Regions from separate parts of the Homo sapiens genome. Here regions 1 and 3 are each linked to region 2. Evidence: promoter capture Hi-C in human tissues and cell types (Jung and others, 2019). All regions are on one chromosome and are shown on one strand. Each heading gives the region's core, a stretch centred on a gene start or on the middle of the fragment in contact. The rest is flanking DNA. Distances are from core to core; before and after follow the strand shown.

Region 1 (3,367 bases), core at 409-2,908, 1.0 Mb after region 2:
ACTTAGTTTTATAAAAGTTATGGAGAGGATTAATTTCTTACCAGAAAATTATCCTAGGTTATTGAGGCTGCTGATACCTCTGGGTCAATGACTCTTACCCCTTTCCGGGAAGATCCCCTTGAGAATCTGATGAAATGTACAGACTCTGTCTGCAGAAAGCATACATTAACACGATCCTAGGATTTTGAACACAGTTTCAGGGGATTCTTAGATGTTCCAAAGATCATTTGTATTCCACCCCCATCAACCCTCCATCACGGATTAAGAACCCTGTACTGATGACAAATTTTGGGGCAGTTTTTACATGAGCAACACAGATTACTCTTGAGTGTGGAGTTCTACCAAGCTTAGTTAAAAATTCTGACTTCATCATTTAGTCATCTCCAAGTTGTTTAATCACATACCCCTTACAGTTAAAAAGCAAAAAAAAAAAAAAAAAAAAAAAAAAAAAAGATAGAGCATGATTTATGTATATTTACTCATAACACATGTATTCATTATTAATATATTATGTGCATTATAAAACATACACAAAATAAAAATTGTAAAAGAATAAGATGAATAGAAAATTTTCAATTATCTTGCTAAGCATGCTATCATACAATCAATAGTATCTCAAGGAAACATACATGCTTAGAACAGAATTAATCATTTATGAAAGTTAATATAAATCCAAATTTCAAATAGTCCTGGAAAATTATGAATGTTTTTGACCTATTTCTTTTTTTTCTCTTCTTTTTTTTTGGGGGGAGATGGAGATTTACTCTTGTTGCCCAGGCTGGAGTGCAATGGCGTGATCTTGGCTCACCGCATCCTCTGCCTCTCAGGCTCAAGCGATTCTCCTGCCTCAGCCTCCCGAGTAGCTGGAATTACAGACGTGTGTCACCACGCCCGGCTGATTTTGTATTTTTGGTAGAGACAGGGTTTCACCGTATTGCCCAGGCTGATCTCGAACTCCTTACCTCAGGTAATCCGCCCGCCTCGGCCTCCCAAAGTGCTGGGATTACAGGCGTGAGCCACAGCGCCCGGCCTGACCTATTTCTTGTTAGATCTCATTAGGCTGTCATTGTTTTAGTCCTCAATTTGGCTGGAAAAGAGTTCTCAGAGGTTAAACTGGCAAATTTGATCCTGATTTTCACCTGTGCTTATATTATTGGTATTATCTCAATTTTCTATTTCCTCACAGAAATTGTTTTTTAAGCCACGTGCTCCCCAAATAAGAGAGTTGATTGATATAGGCCGGGCACGGTGGCTCACGCCTGTAATCCCAGCACTTTGAGAGGCTGAGGTGGGCGGATCACGAGGTCAGGAGATCGAGACCAACCTGGCTAACACGGTGAAACCCCGTCTCTACTAAAAATACAAAAAATTAGCCGGGCGTGGTGGCGGGCGCCTGTAGTCCCAGGTACTCGGGAGGCTGAGGCGGGAGAATGGCGTGAACCCGGGAGGCGGAGCTTGCAGTGAGCAGAGATCAAGCCACTGCACTCCAGCCTGGGCAACAGAGCGAGATCTGTCTCAAAAAACAAAAACAAAAACAAAGACAAACAAAAAAAAAAACTAGATGATATAATCTTAAGAATTTATTTAACGTGGAACCTGTAAAATTAAGGCAATATCAATGCTTAAAAAGATGTCAATGACAATGAAAGAACCAGAAGGTGCCAGTATCACCCCTCTGCCTGTGGCGCTTTTTGTTTTTCAGTACTCTTCAGCTACACTACATGACACATGACCAGTTTACTTAGGGACCATGTAAAACACTCTAGGGTCAAGGGTCAATGAGTATAATAAATATACATAAAGCTCTTTTTTGTCCTTGCATCATTACTTTTTTCAATTATTAAAGAAAAAAGAAACAGATTTTCTTCTGTTCTTCCTATTTCACAGTAAATTGTCTTGGTCACTCCGCTTTGGAGATCCCTGCCTTAGGCAAATTACTTCCTGATTCTCAGTTTCCTCACCTGTAAAATGGAGATGAAGTCATAGATCTCGTAGGGTTAAATGGATTAAACAACATATGTACAAGTCTCTGTACAACTTCAGGCATGTAATTTAAAAGAGAAATAAAAAGGAGCTGCAATTATAATTGTGACTACTGTATTAAACAATTGCCATGTATGCATTCATGTTACTCCTAGCCTAATTTAAAAACAAACAAAACCTCTTGTCGGTGCTCTTTCTATGACTACAAGAGCTGTAGCTTCTCCTCATCTTCCCACATCCCCCCTCCCCAAAACAAAACAAAACAAAACCAAACAAAAACCAAACACATTTTCCAAGCGTTTTCAAGCCTTGGCAGATACTGTAAAGATTCGGAACACTTACTGATGTTGTTCATTAACATGATAATTACTAATAGTGAAGACCGGCTAAATTTTCTATGTCAGGTAATTTTATTATCTATCTCTCATCCTTTCCTTCAACAAAGTTTTTTTTTCTTTTCTTTTTTTAAATACAATGTGCTAGGTATCAGGGTAATTGCTGAGGTTTCAAAGATGAATCGAAACACCCTCCAGGCACTAACCATCTAGAGGACAACACCAAACAAATAATTGCATCAAAGTGATAAGTGCTATAATGGAGGCGCACACCGGTTGCTATGGGAGCAGAGTAGGACAAGCAGCTTCCTCTGCCTGGGGAGAACAGGGAAGACCACTAGAAGGATTCTGGGTCATAGTTGAGTTTTGAGGATGTGGGTTGAGGATCTGCACTTCAGTCAGAGGGGAGAATGTCCAATGTGGTCACTTAGGAACCAAACGGTAGACAGGTTTTCCCTGAGCCCAGGCATTTTTGGCGGCAGGGTCAACAACGCTGGTAGAGACCTGTCTATGCACAGCCTAGGATAACATGCCAAGAAGTTTGAAACTTACCGTAAAATGGATTGGGAATAGACAAAGGATTTTAAGCTAAAGAACGATATAATCATAAAGAGAATTGGGGGTGGTATTTTGGGGGAATGATTGTGAAAAACATAATTTATTGAACATGCCCATTAGAAAAAAAAGAGAGAGCGGGGTGTGGTGACTCACCCCTGTAATCCTAGCACTTTGGGAGGCAGAGGCGGGTGGATCACTTGAGTTCAGGAGTTCCAGATCAGCCTGGCCAACATGGTGAAACCCTGTCTCTACAAAAAATACAAAAATTAGCTGGATATGGTGGCGGGCACCTGTAATCCCAGCTAATCGAGAAGCTGAGGTTCGAGAATCCCTTGAACCTGGGAGGCGGCGGTTGCAGTGAGCCAAGATCCCGCCACTGCACTCCAGCCTGGGCAATAGAGCGAGACTCTGACTCAAAAAGGAAAAAAAGAAAAAAGGAGAGAGAGGAGTGTTTATTTCTGTAATAAATTTACTTGTTAATTCTAAACTAT
Region 2 (3,881 bases), core at 604-3,103:
CTCCCCATTTCCTAGCCTCGGGCCTACAGGGCTGGGGGCGACCTCTGCCTCCCGTCCCCAGAGCTTACAAAATTCCTTCCAGTTGTATTTTAGGGCTTGTTTTCCTAGAGAAGGTTGAGACTAGAGGAAGGATTAAAGTGGTGGGGGAAGGGGCAAGACCGAGGGGTCCCTACCCCACGCGGCTTTGGAGGATGGCCTCCCAGGGTTAGCACTCGAATGCTAGAGCTTCTTGTCCACACTCTACCAGGTCAGTGTCCCGCGATCCCCACCTCCCGGACGCGTATGAAACGGGAACAGCTAAGGGCTTCAAGGGAAACACACAACTGGGGTTCGGTTTTCAACCCTCCTCTCCGCAAATCAGCCTTCTGGGCAGAGGGTTGGCTGCTAGAACGCCTGGAGGTGCTTCCCTTGAATTCATGGCAAACACCAGAGGAAAGTTTTCAGGTTGCTTGCTTACTTCCAGGGCAGTACAGAGAAAAGCGGCCTCCCCGAGGGGACAAGGGCCTCTGTGCCCATGAGGGGTCGGACATTGCAGCGGACTTGCCTACGCTCTCATCTAGCATTTGATTCCCCACCAGGAGATGGGCTTGGTGCACGCTCTCAGAAGCGCATCCACCGAAGGCTCTGGAACTGCCCCGCTTCGCATAGAGCTATTGTGCTGCCCTGCAGTGTATCCACTTGTTTTGTTTGTTTGTTTGTTTTTTGGTTTTTGCTTGTTTGCTGATGGGCAGTGGGGAGGTGCGAGGGTGGAGGGCCTTCTTTGTGCATATATAGCGATAGTCTGCACTAGGCCAAGCCCGCTACTCCTGGGAGAATGGGAACACGCAAATAATCTAAACAAAGTTTTCTGCTGTCATCTTGTGAAGGACCCTCTCCCCCAAGACATCTATGACTGGGGTCTATGGGTTAAGGAGGTGAAAAAGTGGCCCCATCCCATATCCATAACTGAATCACAGAATCCGTGGGGATTTGAACTGAGTGGCTGGCGCAAGACCTCCGTTTGCTTCCAGTAGCTGCTGGGAGCGAGGGAAGAGGATATCGGTAACTTTGGGGGCGCCAATGTGGCTTCTGTGTCTGCCCCTTGAAAGTTTATACCCGGCGCTTAACAAATCCTTTACAGGAGCACGTACGTCCCTGACCTTTCAGGATACTGTTTTATATTAAAACATGGACAGGAGGGTAGAAAAGTAAAATTCGCCTGCAAAATGGCTTGTCATCCTTGGGCCGGCAGATCTCCAAAACCATTTTCTTCTAAAGCAACAAAAGAGAAAAAAATACGTTCTAAAAGGAAATTACGAAAAGAGCCTAACTTTCCTAAACCAACATCACTTCACTCCCCTATCCTAAACTCCACCCAGGTCCGGGGTGCAACCGCAACACTCCCGTAGGTTCGAGTTCTCCCGGAGCTGAGCTTCTGCGGCCAAATGTCGGGATAAAAGCGGCCTTGGGCTCGGAAAAACGCGGCCAGATCTGGACTGGAGGGAGGAGAAGAGAGAGAAGCGGAGCGGCCACCTCACTCGCTTACAGGCACCCCCACCCTCACTCCCGCTGGTCCTCCCCTTCTCCGCCCCGCGAGCACCGCCGCGTTCTGGAGCGCCGCAGTCTCCAGCCGCGGGCTGGGGTAGCGGAGAGGGCTTGGAGGAGGGGGCCGCGAGCGCCCCCGCGAGAGTGGCCTGGCTGCAGGTGGCAAGGAAGGTGAAGTGCAGGCACCCGAGGGGCGCAAAGGAGGAGGAAGGCGTGGGGCGGGGAGTGCAAGGAGACAGGGACCCCAGGGGCGGGGGTGGCGGTGGGAAGGAGGAGGGGTTGGGGGAGGGCGGCGGAGGTGTTGGGTCCGGCCGGCTCACGAGGGAGCTGCAGAAGAGCTGGCTCAGACCTTAATCAGAGCTGTCGCCGGCTCCTTGCAGCCGCCGCAGCGCCTCCGCGAAGGAGGACGTGCCGACCCGGCTGCGCGCCCAAGGCAGAGGCCCGCGTCGGCGTTGGCTGGGCGTGAGCTGGGAGGCCGAGCTGTGAGCGCGAAGGGAGCTGGAGAGACGACTGCGGCACCTCCGGCCGCCCCGGAGCACACACGACCACCGGGGCTGCGGGACCAAGGGCCGCGTCGCCCGGAGGCCGCCCCTGAGCGGGCCTCGCAGCCCCGCCGTCCAGCGCTCCCTGGCCCTCTCCCGCAGCCAGGCTGCCAACTCATTCGGGAGCCCGGGGCATGAACGGCTACGGCTCCCCCTACCTGTACATGGGCGGCCCGGTGTCGCAGCCGCCACGGGCGCCCCTGCAGCGCACGCCCAAGTGCGCGCGCTGCCGCAACCATGGCGTCCTGTCCTGGCTCAAGGGCCACAAGCGTTACTGCCGCTTCAAGGACTGCACCTGCGAGAAGTGCATCCTCATCATCGAGCGGCAGCGGGTCATGGCTGCGCAGGTGGCGCTGCGCCGGCAGCAGGCCAACGAGAGCTTGGAGAGCCTCATCCCCGACTCGCTGCGCGCTCTGCCAGGGCCCCCGCCGCCGGGGGACGCCGTCGCCGCCCCGCAGCCGCCGCCAGCCTCTCAGCCGTCGCAGCCGCAGCCGCCGCGCCCTGCTGCCGAGTTGGCCGCGGCCGCCGCGCTGCGTTGGACTGCCGAGCCGCAGCCCGGGGCTCTGCAGGCGCAGCTCGCCAAGCCAGGTAAGAGCGTCTGAGGTGCGGGAGTTTGGCCGGGCGCGGGGGCAACTTCGGAGTGCCAGCTGCAGCTCCACTTGGGAGGACTGGAGGCAAAGTTTTGGGACGTGGGCCTGTCGGGGCTTTCCTTCCTACTCTCCGCCAGGCCGGGGCTTCCTCTCCCGGGAGAAGCCGGCTGAGTCTGGACCCAGCGCGAGTGGCACTCGCGCCCGCAGGGAAGGCGCCTCCGGGCAGCCAAACGACGGGACTGTGCGTCAGTATCGCCAGGTGCCTTCCCAGGTTGAAGGGTTCGGAACGTGTCAGATTGAGCAGGGAGACAACGGAGTTGAGACAGGACAAAATTAAAACCCACGTGCGCACACTCACTACGGTGGGGTCGGATTTTCCTGGCTGCAGGCTTTAGAGGTCCTTGCCATTTGGGGGTTGGAATGGGTAGGTAGGTGTAGGGAAGGAGCCAAGGCCAACACTCGGCTGAGTCGAGCTGGCTGTGCTTCTCGGCCGGCCCGGCCCTGCCCAGGGCCCAGGAAAATTTGAGTGAGGACAAGTATCCAACTCTCAGAACCCTGGCCTTTCTAGCTTTGCTCCGTGGCCTCCAGACTCTTGTAACTGGTGAAATAAGTTCCATTTAGCAATGATAGTAAAAGGGTCCGGAAAGGCTTGTGAGCTGATAGCGGGAAAAGAATCTGATGCGCCCAGAATTCACTCCTTTGCAGAACCTCCTAGATCCTTTAACACTGTTCCCCAGGCTGCCCTCAGCTGTCTTCGTGGTTTAAAGGAATACAAAAAATCTGATCCCCCACCACCCATCCGTTTCCATCCAGGCCTCCTGAGCTTGGCAGGCCTGAGTTGAGTCTCTTAGTCTCTCTCTTCCTGGGGAATTTCTAGCTTGCGGTTCTGCCCAGCTCAAGAGCTCTTTTGATGGCTCTTGGAATTCAGTGGATATGTGTTTGGTGTTTCTCCTTAACTGGGGCAAATGTGCAAAGGAACACAGCCCACCTTCTCCCGGAAGGGGGCATGCTGGAATTAGGAGTGGGAAGGTCCAGAGCCCTCCTGTAAGTAGAACTGTGGCAAAACTGGTACCTACACTGACCTGCCAACTCCCTAAAGACGGTACCCCTAGCTTCGGAGAAAGGCTTTCAGGAGCCCAGGACTGCTTTGTCTGGATCCTGTGGAGCTGAGGAAGTGAGGCGGACTCACCTGTTTCATGGTGAGTCAACGGGTGACTGGCAGGTG
Region 3 (3,314 bases), core at 60-2,559, 1.1 Mb after region 2:
TTCCCATCCTTTGTATGAGACTATGAATTAACGTTGTTTGAGTACCTGCTGCTACCACACGTGAAAGTAATTCTTTTATTCTTTTTTTGGAGCATCATTAAAATTAATCTTTAAACACAAAGAGAATGTTAACATGACACTTAAAACAAAGCGGAAAATTTAAAAAGCTTATTTAGCTAATTGGTATCATTAGAATAATTAGAGAAAATGAAGTTATTTAAAAGGCAAGACAACATCTTTTCTTTCTTTTACTGTTACAGTACTATAATTGCTTTTGATTTGAATTATTTGGGGAGAAAAATCTTGTACCGTTCTTGAAAATATTGCATACATTTGGCATGATTTTAGTTCCTTCATTTAATACAAACCAAAGGTGATTGAGAAGCTTGTGGAGATTCCCCGCCCCACTCTATTCCATTAAATGCAACCGCGAGAAGGCCAGAGTTCAGGAACCTAGCTTCTGTTAGGGAAGGCTGTCTAACTGCTCTCTTCTTGACAGCTGAGACAGGAGGTGGTGGCCTGCATGCGCAGGGACACGACCCTGGAGACGGCTCTCAACTCCAAAGCATACAAACGGAGCAAGCGCCAGACTCTGAGAGAAGCTCGCATGACCGAGAAGCTGGAGAAGCAGCAGAAGATTGAGCAGGAGAGGAAACGCCGTCAGAAACACCAGGTTCTTAGACCCTGGGCTTTGCTCACCCTCACTTTGGCAGAGCTGTCCAATGAATTCATCAAATGGGGTCAGAATGACTGAAAAATGGACCCTTGTGGGTGGTGGGGACATCACAGAACAGAACGGTTCCTTGACATGTACATAATCCAACCACATCATTTTATAGACAAAGACGCTTAAGCCAGGACGTATAAATGACTGCCCAAGGTCATACAATTGCTTAGCAGCACAATGAGGTTTAGTATTGTCTTAGTTTGTCTGGGCTGCTATAAAAAAATAGCACAAACTGGGTGGTTGATGAGCAACAGAAGTTTATTTTTCACCGTTCTGGAGGCTGGAAGCCTGAGATCAGGGTACTAGCATGGCTGGGCTCTGGTGAGGGTCTTCTTCTGGGTTGCAAACTGTTAACTTCTCCTTGTTTTCTTACGTGGTGGAAGCAGGCCAAGAAAGCTCTCCGGGCTTCCTTTATAAGGGCACTAATCCCATTCGTAAGGGCTCTACCCTCATGACCTTATCACCTCCCGAAGACCCCACCTCCTAATACCATTACATTGGGAGTTAGCATTTCAATATATAAATTTTGGGAGGACACAAACATTCAGTCCATAACAGGTGTCATGTTCATAATCCCATGGGAAGTTTTTGAATGGGTGGGCATAGGTGGATTTCCTAGAGCAAAATTCTGGGAGCAGGAACTTGGAAAAGGAAAGTAGAAAGCAAAAAGTTATTTTCATAACAAATATAATAGTGTCCTGGCTTCTCTGAAGGGCCTAGTTGAATGTTTCACAGAGGCAAATATTAAAAACATTCCTTTCTGGGGGTTTGGAAATATTTTGATGTAGGATTTGATTTCCTGTCATAGTCCTGTAAATTGTATTTGTTTTCCTGTGCTTAATTTAGTGCTTAGCTTAGTTTCCTTTTGAAAAAATGTTGGATTTTAGTGTAAATAGAGTATATATTTAAAAAGTGGATACAAATTCTGCATGGCAATTTTAACTTTGTATAAACTTATTTTGTGTCATACTCTAGGGTAGTTAGAGCAGAAAAACATTACTTTTGTGACATACTTTTTGCTGGAAATACTCATGTTCCTCAGGTTTATTTTGGAGTGAATGAGTGGTTTGCTTTACATTTTATCATTGCCATTTTGTAGGTCTCTTTCAGTCTTCGATCTTTCCATTCTCATGTGGCCACACCCTCAAGGCTAAGGAGGCTTCTCTTGCTAAAGCTTACAACAAAAGGAACCCGAAGAGGCTATCTTTCCCACCAGCCCCATGGCCCACACCTTAACTGCAGAGACACCAGGGCACCTATCCCCAAACAGATTCTAGTCTTCCTATGCTGTTAAACACACACTGAGAGTTTTCTTGGACAACACTGATAGCTCAGAGGACACTGGTCATTGGATTTTAAGTATCCTTTTCTTCCCTTTTTGGATCTTCTAGGAATACCTGAACAGTATTTTGCAACATGCAAAAGATTTTAAGGAATATCATCGGTCTGTGGCCGGAAAGATCCAGAAGCTCTCCAAAGCAGTGGCAACTTGGCATGCCAACACTGAAAGAGAGCAGAAGAAGGAGACAGAGCGGATTGAAAAGGAGAGAATGCGGCGACTGATGGTAAGGAACTCCCTGCAGGAGCCCAGGAAACTACTCAACCCACGTCCGTCTGCAATGAGACCATTAAATATGGTGGTAGTAGAAGGAAAAAATGAAAACTGCTTATCAAAAATTTTAGTAAATTTCTTTGAACCTTAGGGAGATGAAGTAAAAACTTTTTCTCTTTCCTGGAGAATGCATGCCAAAAATCTAGGGGGATGACTGATGCGTATAGTATTTCTGTGTCCTGGGGTGGCATTGCGCGGTACACATTACAGCTTCTCTCATAAAAGCAGGTACTGTATTTTGCATGAGTTTGATAACCAGATCTGGAAGGATGGCAAATGCAGTTCTTTTAAAAATATGGCCTCTTTGAGATGAATGACCACGTTTTTTGGAATGAATAACACATTAAGTCGTGTCTTCAAATCTAAGAAGGTCTGTGTTTTGAAGCCTCTGGTGCTTATCTTTCTTTTTTAATGGCAGAAATTATTCTCTAACAGTGTAATAAGTGATTTTTAAGTTGATTTTGAAATGTTGCCTTTTTTGTGATAGCCTTGTTATGGTCAAAGGCTATTCATGGATTATTACATTTGCACTGTTATTTTTTAATGGGCATATAAGCACAGAAGAGATAGGTTTATATCATTGGCCTGAGTATTTGTTTTTATTGACCATTTATTTTTGGAATTGGACCTCAGAGCACACTGTGGATTTTAGAAAAGCGTGTGTGTGTGTGATGTTATAATTATAGGAGACCTGCAGATTCTATCTAGGACGTAATGCCTGCATAGATGAAGATAAGGTCATTAGTCTCAGACCATAATTATGTTCCTGGAAAATTCTAAGTGACACTGTCTTCCTGGCTGGTATTACAGTTTGCATTTTTTTCATTTTTTGGATTCCAGAGAGTAAACACCATGTTTTAAAAGCCTCTGTGTGCAGGTACTACTACATCTTACTACCCTATCCTGCCTCCCTCTCCATACCAGGGAGAGAGGACTGTCCGAGAGGTTTCTGACTAGACCGTTTTTGTAGTAATT

The links. The method cuts DNA at HindIII sites, captures the fragments that hold promoters and counts their contacts. A contact is called where the count stands out against the background at its distance.
Region 1: a fragment that was not itself captured here is called in contact with the fragment with the promoter of DMRT3 in region 2 in 2 of the 25 tissues and cell types used here (mesendoderm cells and thymus).
Region 3: a fragment that was not itself captured here is called in contact with the fragment with the promoter of DMRT3 in region 2 in 1 of the 25 tissues and cell types used here (dorsolateral prefrontal cortex).

What each region holds. Positions count from the first base shown.
Region 1 is chr9:2,008,770-2,012,136 of GRCh38, forward strand. No RefSeq gene overlaps it. Among named protein-coding and RNA genes, the nearest start is that of SMARCA2, 4.9 kb to the right of the region's middle. The HindIII fragment of the contact is 5,967 bases long and covers 1-3,367 here.
Region 2 is chr9:974,802-978,682 of GRCh38, forward strand. DMRT3 (doublesex and mab-3 related transcription factor 3) reads left to right here and starts at 1,854. Exons shown (of 2, transcript NM_021240.4): 1 at 1,854-2,654. The coding sequence starts at 2,201. RefSeq lists enhancers at 1-487, 1,020-1,521, 1,522-2,021. The HindIII fragment of the contact is 20,406 bases long and covers 1-3,881 here.
Region 3 is chr9:2,056,173-2,059,486 of GRCh38, forward strand. SMARCA2 (SWI/SNF related BAF chromatin remodeling complex subunit ATPase 2) reads left to right here. Exons shown (of 34, transcript NM_003070.5): 7 at 500-673; 8 at 2,119-2,292. Among named protein-coding and RNA genes, the nearest start is that of SMARCA2, 42 kb to the left of the region's middle. The HindIII fragment of the contact is 4,755 bases long and covers 1-3,314 here.